Regions from separate parts of the Homo sapiens genome. Here regions 1, 2, 3, 5, 6 and 7 are each linked to region 4. The links are contacts of gene promoters, found by promoter capture Hi-C in blood cells and fetal thymus (Javierre and others, 2016). All regions are on one chromosome and are shown on one strand. The core of a region is centred on a gene start or on the middle of the fragment in contact, and the rest is flanking DNA. Distances in the headings are between cores, read along the strand shown. Region 1 has its middle 110 kb from the start of THORLNC. Region 2 overlaps INSIG2 (insulin induced gene 2). Region 3 overlaps LOC107985940 (a long non-coding RNA gene). Region 4 holds the start of EN1 (engrailed homeobox 1). Region 5 has its middle 83 kb from the start of THORLNC. Region 6 overlaps LOC107985940 (a long non-coding RNA gene). Region 7 has its middle 24 kb from the start of THORLNC.

What was found. The method cuts DNA at HindIII sites, captures the fragments that hold promoters and counts their contacts. A CHiCAGO score of 5 or more calls a contact.
Region 1: a contact is called between a fragment that was not itself captured here and the fragment with the promoter of EN1 in region 4, in 1 of 17 cell types (M2 macrophages). The highest score is 5.3, in M2 macrophages.
Region 2: a fragment that was not itself captured here is called in contact with the fragment with the promoter of EN1 in region 4 in 2 of 17 cell types (naive CD4 T cells and total CD4 T cells); the score reaches 8.2 in naive CD4 T cells.
Region 3: a contact is called between a fragment that was not itself captured here and the fragment with the promoter of EN1 in region 4, in 1 of 17 cell types (total CD4 T cells). The highest score is 10.4, in total CD4 T cells.
Region 5: a fragment that was not itself captured here is called in contact with the fragment with the promoter of EN1 in region 4 in 4 of 17 cell types (naive B cells, non-activated CD4 T cells, M0 macrophages and 1 more); the score reaches 7.5 in naive B cells.
Region 6: a contact is called between a fragment that was not itself captured here and the fragment with the promoter of EN1 in region 4, in 7 of 17 cell types (non-activated CD4 T cells, naive CD4 T cells, total CD4 T cells and 4 more). The highest score is 11.8, in non-activated CD4 T cells.
Region 7: a fragment that was not itself captured here is called in contact with the fragment with the promoter of EN1 in region 4 in 1 of 17 cell types (non-activated CD4 T cells); the score reaches 5.5 in non-activated CD4 T cells.

What each region holds. Positions count from the first base shown.
Region 1 is chr2:118,294,316-118,297,028 of GRCh38, forward strand. No RefSeq gene overlaps it. Among named protein-coding and RNA genes, the nearest start is that of THORLNC, 110 kb to the left of the region's middle. The HindIII fragment of the contact is 3,038 bases long and covers 1-2,713 here.
Region 2 is chr2:118,100,928-118,103,917 of GRCh38, forward strand. It overlaps INSIG2 (insulin induced gene 2), which reads left to right. Exons shown (of 6, transcript NM_016133.4): 3 at 2,270-2,394. Among named protein-coding and RNA genes, the nearest start is that of INSIG2, 14 kb to the left of the region's middle. The HindIII fragment of the contact is 2,499 bases long and covers 313-2,811 here.
Region 3 is chr2:118,079,995-118,083,027 of GRCh38, forward strand. All of the region lies in intron 1 of LOC107985940 (a long non-coding RNA gene), which reads right to left. Among named protein-coding and RNA genes, the nearest start is that of INSIG2, 7.0 kb to the right of the region's middle. The HindIII fragment of the contact is 5,040 bases long and covers 1-3,033 here.
Region 4 is chr2:118,846,260-118,849,127 of GRCh38, forward strand. EN1 (engrailed homeobox 1) reads right to left here and starts at 1,389. Exons shown (of 2, transcript NM_001426.4): 1 at 47-1,389. The coding sequence starts at 908. The HindIII fragment of the contact is 11,695 bases long and covers 1-2,868 here.
Region 5 is chr2:118,267,563-118,270,422 of GRCh38, forward strand. No RefSeq gene overlaps it. Among named protein-coding and RNA genes, the nearest start is that of THORLNC, 83 kb to the left of the region's middle. The HindIII fragment of the contact is 518 bases long and covers 1,137-1,654 here.
Region 6 is chr2:118,061,135-118,063,945 of GRCh38, forward strand. LOC107985940 (a long non-coding RNA gene) reads right to left here. Exons shown (of 3, transcript XR_001739662.3): 2 at 1,664-1,882. Among named protein-coding and RNA genes, the nearest start is that of INSIG2, 26 kb to the right of the region's middle. The HindIII fragment of the contact is 2,419 bases long and covers 127-2,545 here.
Region 7 is chr2:118,160,631-118,163,504 of GRCh38, forward strand. No RefSeq gene overlaps it. Among named protein-coding and RNA genes, the nearest start is that of THORLNC, 24 kb to the right of the region's middle. The HindIII fragment of the contact is 2,337 bases long and covers 181-2,517 here.

The DNA.
Region 1 (2,713 bases), core at 83-2,582, 550 kb before region 4:
ACACTATTAGAACCAATAAATGAATTCAGCAAAGTTGCAGAATAAAAAAATCAGCTTACAAAAATCTGTAGGGTTTCTACACACTGACAATGAGGTATCTGAAAAATAAATTAAGAAAATAATCCTATATACATAGCAATAATACTCTATCATTACAGTTGCATGAACTTCCATTCCCACGTTCACTTCTTTGTCATCTCAATATTATTATACCAGAATTGTTTGTTAAATTGATAGTCAAAATTTGTATCATCACCACTATACAAAAAAATTAACAGACTAGATATTTTACTAGATTGCATTTTCTTTTTCAGACTTTCATTTTTCATCTTTCCTGGAATTAACAATGGCTTTATGATTTTATTTCCCTGGCTTTTTTTTTTTCCCCAAAGTTTCCAATAGCTCGCTCAAAAATACACCATTATTTTCTACAATGTCAATGTGTCGATTCCACTATTTCCTTGAAGACAGTGGACTTTTGTTCTGGTCTGAATGAATAACTTCTTAGATCTGCTATGTAATTGTCATCCTGAGATTTTCCTTTGCTACTTTCCAGCATTGAATTCCTGTATTCTGTTGTATTTTTTCCCCTATTTGGTTTTTCCAGAGTATATACTCTAGTAGCTTTCCCAGAAAGGGTACACAAGAAGTACATTTTTTTGTCTTATTTGCCTAAAAATGTCTTTATTCTGTCTATAAAGTTGATTATTTTTACTAAGTATAGAATCCTAGATTGAAAATTCAAAATAATTATTCTTAGAATATTGAAGGCATTGTTTAATTATCTTTGAATCTCCAATATTGTTATTTTGGATTCTCAGTCTCTACTATGTGACCTGCTATGCTGTTTTCCTACAGACTTTTGGTATCTTATCTTTGCTTATAGTGTTTCAAAATTTCAATTATGTGTCTTGATTCTCTTGTATTCATTGCACTTCATACCCAATGAGCCCTTCATCATGAATACCAGATAAGCCTACCAACTTGGAGGATAATTCTCTTCCCTTCTGAGGTGTTTTCTTAATTGCTGGATAATTTTTTTTCTGCTAGTTTATTCTTTTTTCCAAGCACTTCTATCATTTGAATATTGGGCTTCTTGGACTAGATCTTAAACTTTTAACTTTTCTCTCTTTTCTCTTTACACGTTTGTTCCACTTTCTGCATTGTTTTCTCATCTCTTTCAGTGGTTTTGTACTGTATCAGCTTGCTTAACTCAGAACTATGTTTTCTGGAATCCTCTTCCATGAGTGGTTCCATGGTGCTGATTTTCTACTGTGATTTTCTACTGGTCTCCTTGGTTACATTGAAACTATGTTTCCAAATCTCTTTCCCTGTATGGTTTGGAGTTACAGCCAGTCCAAAGAGAATCCATGTAAGATTGAGAGGTGGACATGAAGCAGCAGCCATCACATGCTGGATGTCACCATGATTAGAGGAAGTGAGTGGTGGGGACAGATTCACAGGTGTCAGTGGATCCGTGTTCCACATGCTGTTCCCTCCCTGTGTCCAGCTCTTCTTTCCTACCATTGGTCCTGCTGCCCATCAGTGATCACAGAAGCTGGCACTAGGAAAAGAAGGCAGCCTTTCACAAATGTGTGCCCCAGCAACCCTTCATAGCTCCATGCCAGCAGCTGAAAGTACCTAAAATCCAGATGTCCCCGAAGTCTCCAACTTATCCACCTGCCCTAGTGCTGTAGGAAGGCTAGTTAGGGACTGTATTCGTCTGTTTTCATGCTACTGATAAAAACATGCCCGAGACTGGAAAGAAAAAGAGGTTTAATGGACTTACAGTTCCATACGGCTGGGGAGGCCTCACAATCATGGTGGAAGGCAAGGAGGAGCAAGAGGAGCAAGAGGAGCAAGTCACGTCCTACATGGATGGCAGCAGGCAGGGAGCTTGTGACGGGAAACTCCCATTTTTAAAACCATCTGATCTCATGAGACTCATTCACTGTCACAAGAACAGCACAGCAAAAACCGTCGCCCATATTTCAATCACCTCCCACTGGGTTCCTCCCATGACACATGGGAACTGTGGGAGTTACAATTCAAGATGAGATTTGGGTGGGGACACAGCCAAACCCTGCCCTTCCCAAATCTCATGTCCTCACATTTCAAAATCTATCATACCTTCCCAACAGTCCCCCAAAGCCTTAACTCATTTCAGCATTAACTCACAAGTCCACAGTTCTATGTCTCATCTGAGACAAGGCAAGTCCCTTCTGCCTATGAGCCTGTAAAATCAAAGGCAGGTTACTTACTTCCTAGATACAGTGGGGATCTAGGATGTGGGTACAGGCATTGGGTAAAGACAGCCATTGCAAATGGGAGAACTTGGTCAAAACACAGGGGCTACAGACCCCATGCAAGTCCAGTATCCAGCAGAACAGTCAAATCTTTAAGCTCCAAAATGATTTCCTTTGACTACATGTCTTGTATCCGGGTCGCACTGATGCAAGAGGTGAGTTCCCATGGCCTTGAGCAGCTTCACTCCTGTGGCTTTGCAGGGTACAGCCTCCCTCACAACTGCTTCATGGGCTGATGTTGAGTGTGGCTTTTTCAGGCACATGATGCCAGCAGACGGTGGATCTACCATTCTGGGGTGTGGAGGATGGTGGTCCTCTTCTCACAGCTCCACTAGGCGGTGCCCAAGTAGGGACTCTGTCTGGGAGCTCCAACCCCACATTTCTCTGCTGCACTGCCCTAGCAGAAG
Region 2 (2,990 bases), core at 312-2,811, 750 kb before region 4:
GTGTTTAGCTTTGGTAGACTGTAACTAGTCACTGGGAAATAACTTAAAGGTATCACAAGAAATGTGATTTTTGCATCAGAGAACCATTTGATTTATAAGCAGGATTGTGTTTGCATATGATTTTACACAGGCATGATTTTAACAGTCTTTCTTGTTTTTTTTAAAAAAAAGTACAAGAAGAGGAAAAGAGGCCCAGACATACTCTGTTGAGCTCTCAAACAGTGGAACCTCACAGTGTTGTATATATTGCTATCAGACTCTGCCATGCCTTTATTTAAAGGAAAGAAAGAAGACATTTAATGGGAAGTGACAAGCTTCTTCGAATTCTCCCTCTCAGTGAGCAACTGAGAACCATGCATACTCAATGGATTTGATTTTTATTGGCAAATCCCAGGGTTGGCAGTGTGGCAGTTTAAATTTCTTTTTGTGTTTTTGCTTTCTCTCCTCAGTTGTCTCTCACTTGCAAGTCTGACATCACATGCATAAAAATATAGTCGATTTTACTTATTTATACCTTTGCACATACATGTCAGTATTCTCTATGTAATAATTCTTTACCTAGGCATCAGTTGCTCAGGAAAATTGACTTGGAATGTCTGCTCTTAGTTGACTTTACTCAGCAACAGGCAAAGGGAGGATATATATGGTGGGGGGATGGGGGTGACAAATGAGCTGTTAGTTTTATGACCCCTTGAGAAAAAAAGAGGTGATATTCGTTTAACTACATTTCAACTGTTAGGGATGCTTGTTGCCATTTTATTTGTATAGAAATTTTAAAATCCTGTCAGTTAATCTTGTCAGGATTTTGGAGCAGATTTTTAAATAGGAATATAGTGTGAAACTTCTAGATTTACTAATAGTTATTGGAGCTCTGCATTGCCGAGATATGTTCTTAATCTCTTGATGTTCTGTGAGCCATCTATACTCAGCACATGCCTAACTCAAAAGAGTTGTGGACTAGAAAATGCATACAGTATTGCAGCATCTCATCTCGAGATAGAAGGGTGGTCACACAGCCTTTTTCAAATGCTGCACCATTGGTCTGCTAGGCTGTGATTTTTGATACTAATTGGTTTCTGTTTTTCTTCGAAGAGTGAATGCATTGCCTGTGAGATACAGCTGGCTAATACTGGGTAGGGGGAGGGCCTCTTGTCCCTCAGGCACTTAGATTTTGGCGTTGTAATTTCATGATTCCTCTTAAGTGGTATTGGTTATTTTAAACATGCTTTTCAACTGATGTGACAGTAGTGTCTTTATTGCCAGAATGGCACAACATAATCATCCTGTTTTTAGGAAGATTAGAATATTTTCATTAAATAGTCTTTTTAATAACTAATTTAGCACTTAAAATTCCTTCCCACTAAATGAATAAAATGTTGAGGTTTGAGAAATAAGAAAGGGATGAGAATATTTTGGGACTCAATCATTGACATTTTATATACAGTTATGTATAATTAATGACACAACATTCAAAGTGTTCTTTCCAAAACTAAGAGAAGTACTAAGATGATTTCTTCTTCTAACAGTGCACTTAAAATTTAACTGAAAATTTTAAATACCTCTACACCTTGTTTCCTCCATTGTTTCTATGTGCAGAATGAGTCTTACCTGTAGATTTCTGTTGTGAGTTTTCCTGCTTTGACAATATGACCTACAGCCTCATTAAAGGGCTAGAGTGGAAAGGAGTGTCAGTAAAAGGTGCTACATGCTGAAGACTAAAACGGGAAGCTGGTAGGGGCGAGACTGATCTACGTAAGAGGCCAGCCAGAACCTTCAGAACATTGTGTGTATGATGAGCTTGTTGTATACTTTTATACTTCTAGATTCTCTTAGATTTGTGGCATATAATAAATATTTTATGGTTTGGAGTTTAGAGAGAACATTACTTAACTGCTAACTGGTTTGATACTTTTTTCAGGTCTCGTAGGTATCAGTAGTAGAAAAGTAGCATGAATCATTTAGTAGCACGAATCATTTAGTCCAGTCTGCTAAATTGTGAATCATACATTTGAAGAGTATTTTGTTGATTATAATTTAGAATGTTGTTGTAATCATTTGCAATACTTTCTTCATTGGTGTTATCCTCATTTCATTTCCTTTGGAAGGTAAGTTAAAAAATATCGGTGATTGATGTGAAATAACTTTTTTTTTTGTTTTTTTTTTTTTAAGAATCTTTAAAATGCTTGTGGTGGTTGTAGTGATTCTTTTAGCTTAAGTGTTGCCAGTACAACATTGGAGGTAACTTAATTTTTTTCTTTTTTCCCTACAGCTGTGATTGGGTTATTATACCCCTGCATTGACAGACATCTAGGAGAACCACATAAATTTAAAAGAGAGTGGTCCAGTGTAATGCGGTGTGTAGCAGTCTTTGTTGGTATAAATCATGCCAGTGCTGTATCCTTTACTCTGTAATGAAATGCATAATAACAAAGTGGCTTCCAACAAACCAAAGGTTAAACAGCCCCTTACAACTTCACTGTTGTCAAATTATGATATGCCCACTTAGTCAGAAGAAGAATGTCAACCATATTGTTGAAACATCGGTGTAGCAGCTGTGCAATTATAAAGTGGGGTATAGCCTTTCATTTCATTGTGTATTTTTCACTATCACTTAGAAACTTTGCAAATTTGAAAACTTTACTTGTTTTTCTTAAATTTGGTTACTTAATTACTTTTGTGTAGTTAATCCAAAAATGGAACAGGTACATTTTCAGAGGAGTTTTTTCCTCTCTTTCTTTGTTAAGAATTGCTAATAAGTACATGTGGTAGCTTCAGGTGCTATTTTGTCTTTTGTTTTTCTTAACTTAAAGAAGCTTTTTTTTTTTAAAGGTAGATGCATTGGTTTTAATCAATACCGACAAACCACATAAACGGCATAAGTAGAAATACCAACTTAGACCTTGGCCAAAAAATAAGTTTCTACCCTAGTACATATTTTCAAAGTTTTATTGTTTGAAGATTCAGACATTTTATTTAGTGGTTAATGAGTA
Region 3 (3,033 bases), core at 4-2,503, 770 kb before region 4:
TTCAAAGTTTAAGTTTTGGCAATACAGTGGGGTGGAAGCAATGGAGGAGCTCCTAAGAAACTAATATGGGCTCAGAGGATGTTCTCTGATGAATTTAAACAGAAAATAGACAAGTAATCACATTTAAAGATAAAGTAGCAATATAAGCCTGTAAGAATATTAGATGCTAATGTCCAGAATGTAAGTGAGCTATATGAAGAATGCTAAGTTAGTAAAAGGAAGCCTACACTTCTACGGAGAAGGGAGAACAAGTAACAAATATCTTTACTGCATGGAGCCTAGGCTCTGTTTGTTGGGCTCTGCTAATCCTAGTGTGGAGGCTTTAAAACTTGTCCGCAAATGTTCTCACTCTCCTCTCACTGAAAGGTGGAGTCCAGATCTCCTCTTTTCTCCTCTCTGGGATAATCTCAGTGACTGGTTGGCCAACACAGTATGGCAGAAGTGCCCATGTGTAACTTAAGAGGTGATACAGCTGCTACCTGGTTTGATACAAAGCAATGAATAACTGAAACACCTGGTGAGAATGTCAGAGCAGAGAAAAGCACACATTTGCTGATGTGAGGCATTTACTCCTGGGAGACCGAAGAACAAATTCAAAGTGTGATAAGTATCAGGTCTAAGGAGTGAAGTAAGGATGAAAGATGAAAGTAAGTATTAAGGTCAGGCTGGAAACAGGTTAGGCTGTGGAGTGCAAGCATTCATGACTGCACACTACAAACAATACCAGTGTAATTGGGTCAGGACTGATGTGATGAGCCATACAGGGCGCATTTTTATGTGTGACACAGAAATATTCCCAAGGTCAAAGGAGCCTGGTAGTCCTAGACACTCACAATGTTAACAGATAACAGGAGGAAAGGAGAACTCCCTAACCGCTTTAATTCCTATTTTCTCTCCAGATGAACAATTGTCACATAGAGAAGGGCAACATTAACACTGGTTTTTAAAAAATAAGGTAGGTGAGGAATCTATAAGTAAGCACTGGCTACTGAAGCTGTGTGTAAGTCTCACAACCTAGATGAGTTACGTTTCTCAGACACTAAAAGAACTTTAGGATAAAACAGAACTCCTGTCAATCATCATGAAGAATCTTGAGAATTAGGGAATCCTGAAAATGGGTAAATGTCTTCTTCTAAAAACAGAGGTGAATCCTGTGAATGCTAGGTAGGTGGGCATCAGATCTGGGTTATCTTTCAGAACAAATCCTCAAAGAGATGATTTATAAGCCTCAGCAAAGGAGTCAGCATGAGTTAATGAAGATGAAGTGGTTAACCTGAATTTCTATATGAATTTACCAATCTCTAATGACATGATTCTGAATACGAGCTGGGCACATAGTGAGAATGGCTGTAGGCAAATAATGATTTCTGATGAATGGATTTATGTTAACCAAAAGGCACACCTCCAGAGTCCACCACAGGCCCCTGTCCTTAGTGTTGCATTATCGAAAATGTTTATTACAAATAAGGTTCTGATGGCAGGATGGCGTGCTGACGCAGGTTGCAATGCGCACTATTATACTGAATGCTGGAATCTGTACCAAAAGTATCTTGATAGGTAGTAACTATGGACATGTTTTAAAAAGGAGAAATTCAACAGGGAAGCCCTTTTGTTTAGGACCTAGCCTTCACTCCCAATAGAAAAAAAAATCCAAATGCCCCCAAAGTTTTACCCCAACAATAAAAGAACAGGATAGAAAGAATATGGTTTGTGCGCATGGAAAGGATTTAAGAGTTGTCTAAATTTAACAGCTCTATACAACTTAATAGTGGGATGTGGCCGACAAAAATGCTACTGTGATGGGATGTTATGTTAAAAGAAGTATATAGAACAAAAGATGTGATGGTGCAGCTCTGGTGTTTGTTCTGAAAGTGGTCCTGTGAAGGGATAGTGACAGACTGAAGCATATCCAGAAGAAAGCAACTACTATGGTTAAGGGATGGAGAACAAGTCATATGGAAAATGACTAAAGAAATTGGGTATATTTAGACATGACAAGGATCTTCGGGGAGCATGGAGCAGGAAGCAGATTTAACAATTTAAAGGCTGGCACACAGAATTGAGTGGCAATGTGTGGGAGCCATAAAGAAGCTGGAGAGACTTGAACCCTAGGAAAAACTCTCTTGTACCTGGACCTATGCAAAGATAAAAGCAGTTTCCTCAAGAGGTGAGGAATTCCCAAACTGAAGGCATTCAACAGACATAGGAAGGTCATTTGTCAAAGATAATATTAAAGCGAATAAGAATAAATCTGCAAAACTATGACCTTTTACCACTACTTTATCACACTTACTCCTTACAACAGGAGGCACTTGTATGATGAAGAAATTGAAGAACAGAGAAATAACTTGTCCAAGAATATGCAGCTGGTAGTGGAGAGCACAGCCTGCAAGGCAGATATGCCTTATTCTAAACAGTGCACATGCCCCAGGCTTCCTCAAATAAAACTGAGCTCTTATTTCCAGGAGAGGACACTGGATCAATCTCCAAAAGGAGAAATGGGATCCACTGAAGCTAGAGTAGCTAATACATCCTCTGAGAATATTAAACATCACCAGGAGTCTTCAGGCCATTGATGAGCTACACATACTGTTTCTCAGTTTGGAATGGCTTTTCTGATGATGGTTCTATTACAGCTCAATACCAAAATTAATTTTATAAATCTAAGATCTGCTTCTTAAAGTTCTTTCAGTTTTCTCCAATCATTACCAAAGTATTAATTCCTAGCCTTTAAAAAAAGTAATGCTTCTCAAATTCCAAGAGTATTAAATTTAAAATCATTTCACATAATTTCTTTACTTTGATGGGAAATTCTTTTGATGGTTTTTGGTTTTGGCAAGTCTCAATCCCAGAACAAATCTAAATTCAAGTCCTTGAGTTTCTATAGTGTGTTTTATGTCTGTTACATGAGCTAGCTTTATACATATTTCTTTTGGGTAAGTTTAATTATTGGATCATCGTGTCCTTCATCTGCTATCAAATGAAACCCTCTGCTTTTGTGAACCAATGCATATAAATGTATACATACATATA
Region 4 (2,868 bases), core at 139-2,638:
TCCGCGGGGCCAGAAGGCATGGCGCAGCCCGGAGTTGGGTACTCACCGGAGGATGGACGATCCGAATAACGTGTGCAGTACACCCAGGCGGGCCATACGAGAGGCTGCTGCGAGTCAGTTTTGACCACGGGCCCGCCGTTGGCTGAGCCCATAAGTAGGATAGCCGGGTTGCCGTGCTCCGGGTATTTGGTGCCCTGCGCTCCGGGGCTCCCCGCGCCGCCTCCACTGCCGCCGCCACCGGTGTCCGAGGGCTTGGCTGCTGCGGCCGCCGCCGCCGCCGCCACTGCCGCCGCGGCCGCCGCCGCCGCCGCAGCCGGGTTCCCAGCTTTAGACGCGCCCGCGCCGGCGGCGGCTGGCTGGGAGCCGTCGGGTGGGCCACAGTTCGCGTCCGGGGCGCACAGGAGCGAGGCAGCGCCTGGCGCCCGGGTGCCCAACGGGTGGACAGGGTCTCTACCTGCGGCAGTCTGGCCTCTGTCACGCTCGACCCGGCCTCCTCCTCCTGCGCCTCCTCTGGCCGCCGCAGCCACCAGAAGCTGCGGTGGCGGCTGCTCCTTTTTGCAGCCGAAGTCCGGCCTCAGGATGTTGTCGATGAAAAAGTTGGTGGTGCGGTGCAGCTGGGCCGCTGGCTGCGGCTGGTGAGCAGGCGCCGCGAGATGCTGAGGCGGCGGGGGCGGGGGGTGTGGGGGGAGGTGCGGGTGGTGGGCCAGGGGCGGCAGGCAAGGCGCCGCGGGCGGCGAGGGGGGCGCAGGCTGCGGGGACACCGGCACGCTGTCTCCATCGCTGCCGCTGCCGCTGCTGCCGCTGGCGCCCGGACTGAGGCTCAGGCTGAGGCCGCCCGGAGTCGCCGCCGCCGCCGCGCCGAGGGCCGAGTCGCGCTGACTTTTAGGTTCCGGCTGCTGTTCTTCCATGCTCGGCCGCCCCGCCGCCCCGGCCGCCGCGCCGGCCCCCGCCCCCACCGCCTCGCTCCCCACCCCACTTTGCCAGCGGCCCGTGGGGGTGCGCGGAGGAAGGAGGCAGGCGAAGCCTCAGCGAAGGCACGGGGCGGGTGCAGGAAAAAAGCTCAGGCGTCTGGCCTGGATCGCTCGTTCTTATCTAGCAGATAGATCTCGCTGTCTCTCCCTCTCTAATTTGTAGACATCCAGATATGGAGACACTTGGCTATTTCTTTTTTCTTTCTGCAACCAGATTCAATGATTTGATTTAAATGGGGAGTAAGCCACGGCCAAAAAAATGAAGGAAAAAAAGAAAAAGAAAAGGAAAAAGAAAGCAAGAAAAAAAGCTCCAATAATTTTTTTCTTAAAGGGAAAAAAATAGTATTTAAAGTCTAGCCATCTTCCTAGGCAGTAGTGAGGGGTTTGACTTCCCCGAGTGTCACGCTCAGCTGTGCCCAGAGCGTGAGGCTGGCAGCGCCTTTAATCGCCTTTGCTTTTTTTGCAGGGAGAGCGCGTCTCCGCCAGCGCCGGGCTGTTTTTTTTTTTTTTTTTTTTTTTTTTTTTTTCAAATCTCTGACAGCTCGGATCTTTGCACAAACTCTCTCGCTTAAAAAAAAAATCACCCAGGCACACTTTTTGCCTTCAAACCGGAAGCACGTGAGTCAGGGCCGCACGTGTGCGGAGCCAATGGCGAGCCGGGACTCGCGCTGACACTCGGGCCTCGGCCCAATGGGCGCGCGCGGGACTTTGCGGATAAATAATCCGGGGGCGTCAACCGCTGGCGGAGAGGGGGCGCCTCGGCGCTGGCCCTGTGCGTCGGGTCCGCCCTCCCCCACCCGCGCCCGCACCCGCGTCCCTCCCCCTCCTTCAGGCCGGGACTCAGGAGGGGGCAGAAGAAACCCGGGAGGGGTGAATTTTGGGATGTAGGCAAATGGAGAAGCAACTCCATAAACAACTTGTTAGAGAAATGCAGGATTATGGGTCTGTGAGCTACGGGAGCAGGGGCAGTAGGCAGGAGCCTGGCTGTTTTGCACCCCCACGCCTAAGAAACTCAGCTTTTTATTTTCTCCTCTGTCTCTGGTTGCTGTTATTGAAGGATGGGTGGTTGTTGTCACTGCCGGTTTGTGTGTTTGTGGGTGGGTGTGGGTTTGGGTGTGTGTAGTGGAGGGAGGGGGAGTGAGACAGGGAGGTCGGTGATGTGAAATAGACCTAGAGTTGGTTACTTTCAGAGGCGCAATTTGTTTTTCACAAATAGCAAAATCTGAAAGGCCCGCTGCGCCTAGCTAGCGTCGCACGTTTACGTTTGTACGTCTCCTGCCGGCCCGCTGCATTGCTTTCCCTTTGTGGGGAATCCGCACCCATGCCCTTCCCGGTCCAGACTTTCGACAACACCCTGGAGCTGCCCTGGCGCCATAGAGCCAAGCCCAGAGGGCTAGGAATAGCCCCAGAGCCAGTTGCCTGGACCTTCCCTGGCAGTGGGAGTCCGGGCAACGCAGATTAATCTCAGGAGGGCCCCGGGGCCGGCGAGTCAGAACGCGGATGCGCGCTAGGCCCTAGCTTTTAGAGTTCAGGGTAACCTCTGTGTTAGATTTCCCTGCAAAGTAAAATCAAATAAATGAAAGCGCTGCACCCCAAGTATTTGCCCTGGCTAGCTGAAGTTGTGAACAGGGAGTTTCCCTCAATTGCCGGGTGACTGAATTTCCTGGGATTGCTCCCAACTCCCTGGGTGCCTCCGGCTCCAGCTCTGTGCGTTCTTCCCTAGTTTGAGGGAAATGCCGTTCCTCCAGCTGCTATCATTCTCCCGTCTGCCGATCTCTTTTTCGCTATTTCCTGGTCGAGGCACCCCCAAAATTTTCTCATAACCGGGAATGTGAGGGACGGGGGTGGCGTGTGGACTGAAGCTCTAGGCACCTGCGGGACTTGTCTCCGGATTCGT
Region 5 (2,860 bases), core at 146-2,645, 580 kb before region 4:
TGCTGGACATCCTGCTGACCAGTAGAGACAGACCCTTATAAGGCCAGGTCCTGAGGTCACTTGCGAGCCATCCTTTAGAATCTAATGCCTTCGACAGTAGACAGAAGAATACTAGCCTTATTAATCCTCCCTACCTACAGATAAAATCTTACACCCTAAGAAAGTGGAAAGAGCACTGGAGTGGGAAGCTGGAGACCAGCTCTGCCTCTGTACCAGGCAACTGGTAAGTCTGGAGCAAGGCTTTTGGCTTTCCTGGCCTCAGTTTCTCCAATTGTAAAATGAGTGGTCTGAATTGGATAGTTTCTAAGGTTCCTTCCAGCTCCAAAATTTTATAATCCTGAGAAGGGTTTATTATTTCCCTTCCAGGAAACGTGATCACATTGTATATTTGAGATCAGTTTAGTTTTACTGAGCCGAGCTTCATTCTCCACATACATATGCACACTCTAAATACACACATAAGCAGATGTATATACAGGCATTGAAAGAGGAAATTGTCCCTACACTTCAGTGCTTTCAACTGAGCCATCAAGTCATTCAGGTATTTATGATGGGGAGAAAAATACATGCACTGTTTTCCTCTCTCTGGAGGATCATGCCAGGAACTCCGCCTGGATGTATAACTCGTGTTGGGAGAAAGAAATGAGAGTTTGACATGCGAGTGGTGGCTGTACAAAAAATGCAATAACTTGTCTCCTCTCTGGCCCTGTATTTCGTGCACCAGCACGGCTGTCCTCTCAGTCTTTGATGGGCCCCACTAACAGACGTGCCCCTTTCTCTTCTTAAACCCTCCTGGTATTTGAATTAGTTTGGTTTCTGCCACGCCTGCATCCTGCAGCTATAGTACTATCTGTTCTCTTGGCCTATAGATTTCTTTCTCTGTCACTCATGAAACCCATGCTTATGGGGCCGTTACTCTGGGTCAGGAAGTGTGCTCAGTGCTGAGAATGCAGCTGTGCAGAGGACAGGCTCCATGTTCTCCTCAAGACTCTAGCAGGGCTGTGTTAGATAGAGTAAAGCTGGCTACCCAAATACTCAGTGTTTTAATATAATACAAGTTTATTCTTGGCTTATGTCCTATCAATTCAGTGTAGGTATTTGACAGGCAGGCTTCAAAATAGGCATTCAGGGAGCCAAGCTTCTTCCACCTGGAGCCTTGCCACCCCCAGGGTTGCTCGTCCTTTCCTTCCATTGGTAGATGGGTACAGGATGAGCGTGGAGAAGGTTCGTTCACTTCCAAACTATTTTAGCTCTGAAATGGCACTCATCACATCACGTGCACTAACTGAGTCATGTTCCCCTCCAGACTGAGGGCATGTCAGGAACAACATACACGATGGACAGGGAGCACTAGTCTTCTGTGGACAGACGCCAAATGAGCACTCCCTAAAAGGAGCTTGGGAGCTATGAAAGGGGAGAATTGAGTGCTTGGGCAGGCCTAGCCGAGCCCAGGGACAGTGGAGGCTGCCCGAGGAAGCAAAGTGCAGTTCACCAGGCACGAAAAGAGGAAAGGCAGAGGTACTGGCTGAGGATCTTCAAAGCCTGTGGGGTAGGGGAAGGGAAGGATCTTCTAGAAGTGAAGCATGGATTAAGGCACTGTGTCAGAAGGGGAGGTGGACGGGAGAGATGGAGGGGAGGAGGTTGCAGATCATGAAGCTTCTAGTAGGCCACGATAAGAAATTCTGACTTTGTCCTAAATACAAAGGAAACTCCAGGAAATGTTTAAGCAGGGGATGTGAGATGACTGCTGCTTTTGAAAGCTCACCCCGGCTGCTGGTGAGGATGTGATCCTGAGGCAGACAGATTCACCAAGGGCTACTGTGGCCATCTTGGGGAAGGACTATGGATGCAGCCCAAGGGGTTGTCAATGGGATGGAGAGTAGAGGGAGATTCGGGGGACATATAGGTGGTAGATTCCTAGAAATAAGTACCTGTTGGAGTTCCCTGGTCTCGTCTTTCCTACTTGGGTTATCATAGTAGCCTCTTGACAGTCATCGTGTCAACACTTACCTCTGCCAGCACTTAGATGAAGTGGCCATTTCGCTCCCTCTATGGGTCAGGCTCTATATGGCAGGTAACACAGGCCACTCTAGCCAGTTTTAGCAGAAAGCGATATATTTATGGGTAGAGGAAATGCATAGAACTACTGGGAGGACAGAAGAAATAGATTCTAGGCAGGGTGTTCGGGAGGAACTCCCAGTGCCCACTGCAGAACTGGCCTGCCAAGCAGCTGCCTCCTCTGCAGCCACCAGGAAGTTGGCACCTTAGCTGTCCCCTCTCCAGGCACGCTGCCACCCTCTGCCAGCAAAACAGAGGGCCACGCCCCACCTCGTCCATCCTATAACTGCTCCAAATCAAAGCTTACTGCAGGGGCATCTGATCAGCAAAATTGAGTCACATTTGCCTTCTAATGGCAGTGGAAGCTGGAAAATGTGGTTCTGGGGAATCTCTGATGGGAAGGTAGGTTTCACATTCAGGGAACAATCCAAATGCAAAGGGAGTGTTCCAGAAGTTTTGGGCAACCACAGATGACAGATGTGTACAACACTCCCCTGCTCACCGTGTTGAGTGTCTGACACCCGCGTCTCATCATTGAAAGCTCGCAGCAGTGCCACTGGAGGCACTTTCTTCCCACTCACCAATGAAGAAACTGACTCCTAGAGGCAAATGAGCTTGTCCAAGGTCACATGGCAAGCAGTTGGCTGCGTTGAAATTTGAACCCAATTTTGTCCCCCAAGCCTGTCCTTTCCCCCTGTGTCTGTGGAGTTATCATACTTACCAATCGTTTCTCTCAGGAAAACTCTCCTCAATCTGACCCGATTCAACCCATCCAGGTTTATTTTCCCTCTTGCCGCCAGGA
Region 6 (2,811 bases), core at 86-2,585, 790 kb before region 4:
TCTCAGGCTTTTTGAACGTCTCATATGGCTGCTCAGGACCCCAGAGAGAGTATTCCAAGATTCAGAAACGAGAAGCTTGAGTCCTGGGCCCAGAGCTGGCACAGCCTCACTTCTATAGTATTCTCAAGCTTATTGAAAGGAGAGTCACTCCCCGCTGACCCTCCTCCTATGCTTTCCACATGTTCCCCACCCTCAGGCTCCTGCCCCTACCAGCCCTCTGACACTGCCCTACTTGAGGTCACCAAGGATCTCTTCATCACCAAACTCAAATATCATTTTGCTCCTGTCTGTATCTTACACAATTTCTCAGCAACAGCTGACTTTGCCAATCATTTCTTTCTTGCAACTCTGCTTTCTTGGCCGTTCACACTACCTTCTCCTCCTCTGCTTTGTCTTCCCCCAGGGAGATTTGGCAATGTCCAGAGACATTTTTAGTCATCACAACTGGGGTGCTACTGACATCTAGTGGGTAAAGGTCAGTGTTGTTGTTAAATATCCTATAAGGTACAGGATGGCCCCCACAACAAAAAAATTACCCAGTCCTAAATGCCAGTAGTGCTGAGGTTGAGAAATCCTGCTGTGGTTTTTAAAAAGAGGGTACTGGAGACAGGATGAATCTTGGCACAAAGGAAACTCACTAATGGCAGAGTTTCTGGCCTCCTTGGGGAGTTATCTCTGAAAAGGGACTCCTTTCTGGTAAACAACATGGTGTAATGGAAGGGGAAGGGTTTTGTGGTCAATAGATCTAGGTTTAAATCCTAACTTTCCTAAAGTGGAGGTCATAATTTCTATTTTGTGGAGTTGTCTTGATGAACAAATCAGATAACCTATATAAAGTATACAGTCAGTTCATAAATGGTAGCCCTCCCCCTTAAATCACATGATATAGCAGATGTCATGATATAGCAAGAGGTGGCTGGCACATAATAAGAGCTGAATAAATATTTGCAGGATGAAATATGAATAAACTCATTGCCTTACTCCTTTAAGAAGTTGGTTGCCATGAGAGCTCTCTAGCTAGAAATGATTTATTTTTTTCTGTCCTTTTTGGACCTAAGGTTTAGAGATAAGTTTCACAACTCTGCATCATAGTCTGGCCCCATCAGTATAATAGCTAGTGAGGTTTTATGAGGCCAGGCCATTGGCTTGGCATGCAATCCTCCAATTAGAGGGCATGTGACTGCCCATAATATAAAACAGGAAATATGGATAGCTTTATTCTCTTGTGGACACAGTAAAATTGGCAGAGAAGAATAATAAATTCAGAGACCTATGTGGTATCTCTTGTCCTCAGTATTGATACTAATAGTGAAAAGAAAAGTTTGTATATTTGGGCATGGGGAGTGGTCTCTTCCCCTTTATCTTTTTGGTGTCTATGAACAATGCATCAACCTAACTTTCTGCTGAGATTCAAAGACAGAATTACCATGGAGACCACCTCCTTGGGATTTTCTGTAGTACAAAATCATTGACATTAACATCTCCCTATAACTCCTTGTCTTGTTCTGATTCACCTTCCATATTGTAATCAGGGTAAGCTCTTGGAAACACACACTTTATCATGATACAATCCCCTACTCCCTATTAAATACATTTCAAAACATGTCATACAAGCCCCCATGTGGTCAGGCCTTTCCATCCTTTGCTTCAGACTTCAACTTACCTCCCTACATCAAAGCCCCTTCACAGAGCTGTGTCTCTCTCCTTCACGGTCCTTGGCAAAGCTATACAATGGTTCATTTGTTAGTGTCCTTCTTTGATTAGCATCAGTCTCTCTCTCGTAAACTCTTTGCTCCATGACAGCTGGGATTGTGTATCTTTTAGCTTTCATAGTATCCCCAGAGCCTGGCACATCCCCTGAGCCTGGCTCAGTCAAGTCTTCCTAAATAAATGAATATTTAAACAGAATAGATGATATCATTAGTAAACATTACTTTCCTACTTCAGCCTAGGACCTAACCAAAACCCACTTTTTTTTCTTCCAACTTTTATTTTAGGGTTGGGGGCTACCTGGTGCAGGTTTGTTACATGAGTAAATTACATGCCACTGGGGTTTGGTCTACAAATGATTTCATCACCCAGGTAGTGAACATAGTACCTTATAGGTTGTTCTTCCATCCTCACCCTCCTCCCACTCTTCACCCTCAAGTAAACCCCTGTGTCTATTGTAGTTCCCCTCTTTGGGTCCATGTACATTTAATGTTAAAATCTACTTTTGTCTAAATATGTGACTACCACTTCTACACCAAGGAAGCTGTGAGATATCAATAGTACAAGTTTACTGATGATGATTACAATGATGATGATGGTAATATCTATGTAATACTAATATACAATTAAATAATAAAATAATTATATAAAACAGTTAAATCTTCATTAATATTTGTTGAGTGCTTGCTCTATGCCAGATACTATACTAGGCAATGGGGATAAGCTCTTGAGCAAAATCAGACATGGTATTTTTCATGCATTATCTTATTTAATAGGTCTATTAATTAGGCACAATTATTTTCCCATTTTGTAGATGAGAAATTGTGACATTGGAAGCTTAACTAAATTGCTCATGATCATACAGCCCATAAATTGGTGTGATATAGCGGTTATTTGAACCCAGGAGTGACTCCAAAGTTATTAACCATTACATTGTATAATTTTAGAAGAAAAGAGATTAAGTTAGGCCTAAAAGGTAACATCTATTGGCAAGTGCAGCAGATACTAATAGATGCACCAGCATCCTCCATGGACTGGGCATTACTACACACCAGACACTGTTTAACATGTGGAATATATGTTTTCTCTAATCTTCACAGC
Region 7 (2,874 bases), core at 99-2,598, 690 kb before region 4:
ATAGGATATAAATCACATGATTGTCTCAATTGATGCAGAAAAAGCATTTGACAAAATTCAACACCCCTTCATGATAAAAACTCTCAACAAACTAGGAACAGAAGTAAAATATCTCAGCATAATGAAGACCATCTATAAAAAGCCTACAGCTAACATCGCACTCAATAGTAAAAAACTAAAAGCTTTTCCTCTAAGATTAGGAATAAGGCAAGGATGCTTACTTTCACCTTTTCTATTGTAGGGGCCAAGGGAAAATTACTCTTTATCTTCAGATGGTTCACTGAAAAATCAACTGATAAAGGTGGATTAATTGGAGAAAAGGCATACAAATTTATTAACTTGTATATGGGAGAGAACCACAGCATAATTACCCCAATCACCCAGTAGGTTTCAGAACCTTATGTGCCATCTTGAGGTTACAGAAGGAATGGGGGTTGGATATCAGCAAAACAGATTATGGGAGGGGGAGAAGAGGAAGCCTGGCTAACAAAGGTGGTCCTGCTATGTAAGTGAAACCTCACAGGTAGTAGCCTTCAGAGAGAATGAATAATGAATGAATGTTTTCTTCAGATCTTTTTTTTTTTTTTTTTTTTTTTTTTTTTTTTTGCATGTGTGTGGAGACAGGGTCTTGCTCTATTGACCAGACTGGAGTTCAGTGGCACAACCATGGCTGTCTGCAGCCTTGAACTCCTCGTCCCAAGCAATCCTCCAGCCTCAGCCTCTCAAGTAGCTGGGACTACAGGTACACGCCGTCACACCTGGCTAACCGTTTTTTTTTGTTTTGTTTTTTGAGATGGAGTCTCACTAGATTGCCCATGCTGATTTTGAACTCCTGGACTCCAGTGATCCTCCTGCCTTGGCTTCCCAAAGTGCTTGGATTGGAGACATGAACCACTGCACCTGGACTTTCAGACCTTTAAATGTATTATACTCTCAGTTAATCTTTTGTAGATAGGACGAGGGAGAGCCCCAGAGAAAGCCTGGCAGCATCAATGAAGATTTCGTACAAATGCAAATCTCCCCTCCAAAGACAGCTTTGCAGGGCTACCTCTGTTTGCAGACTTGCTGAACAGCCACCTCAAAATATGTCAAGGAAGTATATTTGGGGATGAAATACTTTGATTTCCCTCACTCTTCAATGCAACATCGGAATTCCTATCCAGAGCAATTAGGCCAAAAAACAAACAAAAAGGTACTTAAATCACAAAGAAGTAAAATTGCTCCTATTTGCAGATGACATGATCTTACGTATAGAAAACCCTAAAGACTTCATAAAAATTTTCGTTGGAACTAATAAACATATTCAGTAAAGTTTCAGAATACAACATTAACATACAAATATCACTTGCACACACATTAACAATGAATATGAAATGGAAATTAGGAAAACATTCCCATTTACACTAGCACCAAAAAGAATAAAATACCTAGAAATAAACTTAACTAAGGAAGCAAAAATCTTGTATACCAAACACTACAAAGCATTGTTGAAAGAAATTAAACAAGACACAAGCAAATGGAAAGTCATCTGTGTGTTCATGGATTGGAAGACTTAATATTGTTAAAATGTGCATACTTTTTAAGACAATCTGCAGATTCAATGCAATTCCTAAAAAAAATTTCGTTAGTATTTTTTACCAAAATAGAAAAACAAAATTCTACTATGCAGCCACAAAAAAGAACAAGAACACATCTTTTGTAGGAACATAGATGGAACTGAAGGCTATTATCCTTAGCAAGCTAAAGCAGGAACAGAAAACCAAATACCACATGTTGTCACTTATAAGTGGGAGCTAAATGATAAGAACTTATGAACACAAAGAATAAAACAACAGACAGGTCTACTTGAGGGTGGAGGTTGGGGGGAGGGAGAGGAGCAGAAAAGATAGTTATTGGGTACTCTGCTTAATATCTGGGTGATGAAATAATCTTTACAACAAACCCCCATGGCACTTGTTTTCCTATGTAACATGTACCCCTGAACCTAAAAGTTAAAAAAAGAAAAAAATTCTAAAAATAATTTGGAACCACAAAAGACCAATAGCCAAATAAATCTTGAGAAAGAATGACAAGGCAGTCATCACACTCTCTGACATCAAAATATAGGACAAAGCTATAATAATTAAAACAGAATTGTCATGGATAGATATATAGAAAAATGAAACAGAATAGAGAGCCCAGAAAAAAATAACTATGCATATATGTTTAATTGATCTTCAATAAGGGTGCCAAGGATATACAGTTGGAAAAAGATCATCTCTTCAACAAATGGTGATAAGAAAACTAGATATCCACATGTAAAAGAATGAAATTGGCCCTTTATCTGACACCATACGCAAAAATCAACTCAGAATGGTTTAAATGATTGAATGTAAGACACAAACCTATAAAACGCCTAGAAGAAGACATTGGGGGAAAGTGCCATGACAATAGTCTTGGCAATGATTTTGTGGATATGACAGCAAAAGCAGAGGCAACGACAACAAAATAAACAAGTGGGACTACATCCAACTAATAAGCTTCTGCACAGCAAAGAACACAATCAAGAGTGAAAAGACAACATATAGAATAGTAGAAAATTCATATGATTTGGCTGTGTCCCCACCGAAATCTCACCGTGAATTGTAACTCCCACAATTCCCATGTTCCATGGCAGGAACCCAGTGGGAGGTGATTGAACTATGGGGGCAAGTCTTTCTTGAGCTGTTCTCGTGATAGTGAATCAGGCTCACGAGATCTGATGGTTTTAAAAAGGGGAGTTTCCCTGCACAAACTCTCTTCATTTGTCTGCTGCCATGTGAGATGTGCCTTTCACCTTCCACCATGATTGTGAAACCTCCCCAGCCATGTGGAACTCTGAGTTCAGTAAACCTC